Regions from separate parts of the Homo sapiens genome. Here region 1 is linked to region 2. The links are contacts of gene promoters, found by promoter capture Hi-C in blood cells and fetal thymus (Javierre and others, 2016). All regions are on one chromosome and are shown on one strand. Each heading gives the region's core, a stretch centred on a gene start or on the middle of the fragment in contact. The rest is flanking DNA. Distances are from core to core; before and after follow the strand shown. Region 1 has its middle 80 kb from the start of CHD6. Region 2 holds the start of PLCG1 (phospholipase C gamma 1).

Region 1 (2,700 bases), core at 4-2,503, 560 kb after region 2:
TTAAGAAACAACTTCTGTCTCTGGTGTGTCATTTGTACCTCTGAGGACATCAACTTGGAACAGCCATTGTACCAGAGTTCTGTCTTTTCCAGGAATCAGTGACTCATATCAGTCTCTGCTGATATCAGCTGCTGAAGGGCTTAGGAGAACTGGTAGGACTCAGAGGAGCAGAAAATCCAGGAAAGGGCACTCTTGGCCAGTGCTGTTTAATAGAACTCTTTCAGATGAGTAAAATGTTCCATATTTGTGCTTTCCAGTATGGGAATGTCTCAAGTTCCTTTTTAGACAGTATCTCCAGCCCCCTCATTGGTTCCTGACTTCAGGCTGTTTCCAAGACATTCAACTTGAGACTACAGATCCCTGGGCTAGGTCTTCAAGGGCCCTCCAGATCCAAGCTATGCCTCAGTTTTAGCTGAAGTTGTGTCCAAGAACACAGGTCAGGGTACAGGGAGATGGGATACGTATAGCTCCAGACATGGCCAGTGCATTGTTGATATTGCCACCCCAGCAAACTGCCTAGAACTTGGCCCAGAGCAGATGCTAGGTTAACATGGTAGATGAGTGAATTTACTTTCTCTTCCCCAGATTGGGGCTCCCTCACCTACTGCCATTGGCTTCTGGAATCCTTCTCTATCATTGTGAACTGATGACTTGCCACATGGTGAAGATTAACGAAGCCAGTGCTTTGAACCACCACCCTGACATTTTGGGGGTAGGTCAGGGGGGTAGCTACAAAACCAGCTAGTAATAATTCATTGAAAATATGCTGGATCCAGCATTTTTATGTAATGACCTCATTTTTCTTGTGAAACCCTGTGTGCAAAATGAAAGCCCAAATGAGCATCTGCTATATACAGTTAGGAGTAGGGTGGTGCTGGGGAAAGAGGACTGATCTAGGAGTTACCCTGGACCTGGGGCTCATAGGCTGTATGACCTTGAACAAGATGCTCAATGCTTCTGTGCCCCAGTTTTCTCTCAAGTAAAATAAAAACATTGGACTCTAAGCTTCTTTCTACAGTTAATGTGAATGTTTAAAAAATGGCTGGTCACATCTGTGATCAACCTACATTAAGCACCTTTCAAGTGATTACTTGCTTCAATTAGGTCCATTTTCATTGTTTACTTTTACTAACAGTTTTTTTTCTTAACCCTTCCACTTCCAGTGCCTTCCTCATTCTTCACTATTTTTTGATTGTTTCTTCAGATTCTGATAAATCATCTTCATTTCCAGCCATTGAATCACCTGCTCCTTGGCCCTGCCTAGAGGCTCTTTAATCCTCAGCAGTTTCAATTTCCTGACAAAGCACACAGAGGGGGCCCGGTCTCCCTCCTCTTCCCTTGCCCACTACTCACCACTCTCCCATCTAAAACACATCTGAAAAATCAGGGAGGTTTCTATTCTGGCAGTTGTCTCTCTCACCACTAGATGGCACATGCAGGTCATCAGTCTTTTGGGCAAAAACTAATTTTATTGTGTATTTAAACTCCATCTCAATCCACAAAAGCTTTGAGGGGAATTACAAAAGTACAAAATATACAAAAGGATAAGACAAAAAGTTGAGGTAGCTGGAGAAAATAGAAAACAAGTGGAAGAAATAACTCCAGGATGACATTAGCTCAAAAAGATCAACACCAGCAAAGGCTTACACATTTGGCTCCGAGCTTCCAAATGGCCAAAGTAAAGAGGGAAATGTGAGTGGTAATAAAATTCTAGATTTTATGTGAGAAAAACAAATATTTGGGAGAAGCTCAACTTTTCCTGACCCTGAGACCAAAGAGATATTTTTCCCGTGGGTCAGCTGACTGAACAGTGATGCAATACAGCGGTGACTTAATTGGAGCTGTTTCTTATAATGTCCTTTTATGCAGGCCTATGGCATGACGCTCAAGTATAATTGAGGAAAAGCAGTTCTACTGGGCTTAAAACATGAGTTTCCAGGACAGAGTAAATTCACTGTTTGTTGTGGGCCTCCGTAGTTTGAAACAGTGAAATCTGCACACCTCCCTGTTCCAGAGTTTAGGTGGAGTTTGGGGGAGAGGGGGTTCTTCTTGGAGACTGTGGTAAGCAGTTTCTAAGAGGGCCACCAATGATCCTGCCTCCTGGTTTTCAAACCCTATCTGGTCCCCTCCCATGTAGCAGCAGTAATGGTCTGTGTCACCAGCAGAATGCAGGAGAAGCAGGGCCGGGCATAGTGGCTTATGCCTATAATCCCAGCACTTTGGGAGGCCGAGGCAGGAGGATTGCTTGAGCCCAGGAATTAGAGACCAGCCTGGACAACAAAATGAGACCTCGTCTCTACAAAAAATACAAAAACTAGCCAGGCATGGTGGTGTGAGTCTGTAGTCCCAGATACTACGGAGGCTGAGGCGGGATAATTGCTTAAGCCCAGGAGGTTGAGGCTGCAGTGAGCTGTGTTCATGCCATTGCACTCCAGCCTGGGTGACAGAGCAAGACCCTGTCTCGAACAAACAAACAAAAACAAAAACACCCCACCAAAAACAGAATACAGGAGAAATTATGGTATGTCACTTCTCAGATCAGGTTAAAATACATCATAGCTTCTCTCTTGGTCTCTCTGTCTCTGGTTTTGTCTCTCTCTTTCTGTCATGCTAGGGAAAGCCAGGTGCCATGTCATTAGGAGTCTTGAGAGACCCATGTAGTAGAGAACTGAGCCTACTGTCAACAGCCAGTGTCACCTT
Region 2 (2,700 bases), core at 201-2,700:
TAAATCCAGGCAAAACCAAACTGATAGATCCAGGCAAAACCAAACAAGGTGAGTAGTCTGGGTGACAGGAGATGGGGCCTTCAGCTTGTGGGCTGAGTGACAAGGTCTTGATGGATTGGAGGTGAGGCAAAGGGAGGAATCAAAGTTAGCTGCAAGGTTTTTGACCTTCCAACTTAGAGAAGTTTAGCGCCGCGTTCTGAGAAAGTGAAGACTGTGGAAGGAATCGTTTGGGGAGGGAAGGCGAGCTGTCTAAGGGGGGGGGATGTGGAACATGCAGTGGGATGCTGGGGCCTGGAACGTAGGGGAGATGCAGGTTTGGAGTCACCGGTGCCTGTGTTGTTGGGCAAAGCCAGGGGAAAGGTCAGGTCGCCTTGGGATCTGGCCTAGCACTGAGTGCAGAGGAAGAGAAGCTTCTGAGATCGAGAGGCAGCGGCTACAGGAGGAGGAAGAAAGCAAGGCGGGGAAAACCAAAGTTCAGGAGAGCATTTGCAGGAGGGCGCTGCGGGGTAGGGTCTGAGTCGGAGCCCCGAATCGGACTCGAGTCCTGTCGCGTGGGGACGGAGCGTGCAGAGGCCCATGCGAGGGACAGACACAAAGGCCCTGGGAGCTGCAGGTCAGACCACTGGACAGCGCGGCCGCGGACCTAACGCCCCTGTAAGGGGTGCTCACGCTTGGGGGGAACTCTCCGAAAGAGAGGACCACTGAAAGCCACCCTGGCAGCAGGGGCGGAACAGACAGACGTGGGTCTGGCCGTCGCCAGAACTGCCTGCGGACCAGCCCCGCGCTGCCGGGGGGGCGGGACATGTCGGCTGTCCATCAGTGCCCGCGACCAATCCGCAGGCAGCCCCGCCCCCGCCCCTCCCGGGAGAGGGCGCGCGGAGGACCCGCCGCCGCCGGTGTGAGGCGGCCCGTCCTGGCTCCCTTGTCCGGGAAGCCCGCCCAGGTAACTGAGTTTGGCCGGGCATTCCCGGAGGACGCGCCATCCCCTCACGTCCCGTCCCGGTCGCTGCATGGGCGGTGTTCGGGACGCGGGGGCTGCGTCTGTGCGGGACCGCGGGGTAGCGGCCGCCCGTGCGAGTACGCCTGACTGACGCGCCGGCCGCCGGGCCTGCGGCCTGTGGGCGGGGCTGCCGTGCGTGACAGGGCCGCTCGTGGCCGCCGGGCTGTGTCCGGGGCCGCGTGAGAAAGCTCTGCGGGACTGAGGGCTGGGTGGGTCGACCGGGAACGGCGCGCGCTCCCGCCGCCATCGCGCCTCCGTCCCCGCCTGCGGCCTGTCTGGGGGTCGCGGGGCGCAGGCGCGGCGGGCCGACGGGCGGGGGTCCTCCCCACGGGTGCGCGGGCGCCTTTGTTCCCGGCGCCGAAGCGGGGTGGGGCCTCAGGGCAGCCCCGCCCCGCCGCGCTGAGGCCCCGCCCCGTGTCCGCCTGCAGGAGCCGCCGCCGGGTCCCGCTCGTCTGCCGCCTCAGCCTCAGCCCCAACCTCAGCCGCCGCCGTTGCGCTTGCTCCCGGGCGGTCCTGGCCTGTGCCGCCGCCGCCCCCAGCGTCGGAGCCATGGCGGGCGCCGCGTCCCCTTGCGCCAACGGCTGCGGGCCCGGCGCGCCCTCGGACGCCGAGGTGCTGCACCTCTGCCGCAGCCTCGAGGTGGGCACCGTCATGACTTTGTTCTACTCCAAGAAGTCGCAGCGACCCGAGCGGAAGACCTTCCAGGTCAAGCTGGAGACGCGCCAGATCACGTGGAGCCGGGGCGCCGACAAGATCGAGGGGGCCAGTAAGTGCGCCCACTTCCTGCCTGGGCCCGCCCCGCGCGGGGGTCGTGGGAGCCCGGCCCGACTGCTTGCACCCCGGCCGGCCGCCCCAGCGACTTGGGCAAACTTTCGGGCCCTCCCAGACTCCCTCCGGGCCCCGCCCCCGCTTCGTCTCGGGTGGTCACTGGGGGCGGGGGGCATCCGGGTCCTCGGTCACCTGACAGGACACCCCCCCTCCCCCAGCTGGGGGGAGTGTTCCAGGCGCTTTGCCCTGAGGCCTAAAAATCCTCGCGGGCTGGAGACCTGCGGTGCAGGCATCGGGCCCCCCAGACCCTGGGAGTGGTGGCGGCGTCGGCGAGGGGAGCTAAGGCAGTGGCCCCCACCCTGCACGGGAACCTGGGGCCTGACCAGACGGTCCCCGCCCACTCTTTATCCAGAAAGAGCAGTCTGTGAAACTCTCCGGGCCCCCAGGCTGGGCTCTTATTTGCAAAGGAATCTTTGGGTTCCCTAAGTAGAACTTAGGCAGATGTTGGGTAGGGCTGGTCTTGGAGCAGAGCTGGGCCTACTCATCTCCCTCTGGGGGAGAGGGAGGAAGGTGGTCTTGTTTGGTTTGGAGAAGCCTGAGAGAAGCCAGTGGCTGGAATTTTTTTTTTTTTTTTTCTGCTACTTTTGTCCCAAAGCTGGGTTTTGGAGGCCTATGTGGGTGGGCAGACACTCAATGCCAGGGCAGGGACTCCCCTTGCCCTGGGAAGCACGTTCCCAGGAGATGGGCCCCATAAAGGCCTGCCCCAGCGCCTTGGAGTCAGGTATTCTTCTCAGGAGTGCAGCTAGTTTGTGAGTCTAGCCCTTTGTCCTCTGTCCGGTGGCTTCAGGGAGCGGGAGCGGCTTCTCTTAGTTTCCTGCCTTTTCGCCTTCCCAGGCCTGAGCTTGGCTGCTTTTGCGCTGGTCTCTAGTGGG

What was found. Contacts are between HindIII fragments. The CHiCAGO score rates a contact against its expected background, and 5 or more counts as called.
Region 1: a contact is called between a fragment that was not itself captured here and the fragment with the promoter of PLCG1 in region 2, in 4 of 17 cell types (naive CD8 T cells, activated CD4 T cells, total B cells and 1 more). The highest score is 9.7, in naive CD8 T cells.

The regions. Positions count from the first base shown.
Region 1 is chr20:41,696,552-41,699,251 of GRCh38, forward strand. No RefSeq gene overlaps it. Among named protein-coding and RNA genes, the nearest start is that of CHD6, 80 kb to the left of the region's middle. RefSeq lists a silencer at 2,659-2,700. The HindIII fragment of the contact is 500 bases long and covers 1,004-1,503 here.
Region 2 is chr20:41,136,093-41,138,792 of GRCh38, forward strand. PLCG1 (phospholipase C gamma 1) reads left to right here and starts at 1,451. Exons shown (of 32, transcript NM_002660.3): 1 at 1,451-1,766. The coding sequence starts at 1,550. It overlaps LOC124904903 (translation initiation factor IF-2-like), which reads right to left and starts at 1,421. Exons shown (of 2, transcript XM_047440629.1): 1 at 1-1,421. The coding sequence starts at 1,247. The coding sequence ends at 666. PLCG1-AS1 (PLCG1 antisense RNA 1) reads right to left here and starts at 1,908. Exons shown (of 7, transcript NR_109889.1): 1 at 1,622-1,908. RefSeq lists enhancers at 1-750, 1,535-2,319, 2,241-2,340, 2,489-2,568 and silencers at 721-1,710, 1,831-2,090. The HindIII fragment of the contact is 8,103 bases long and covers 409-2,700 here.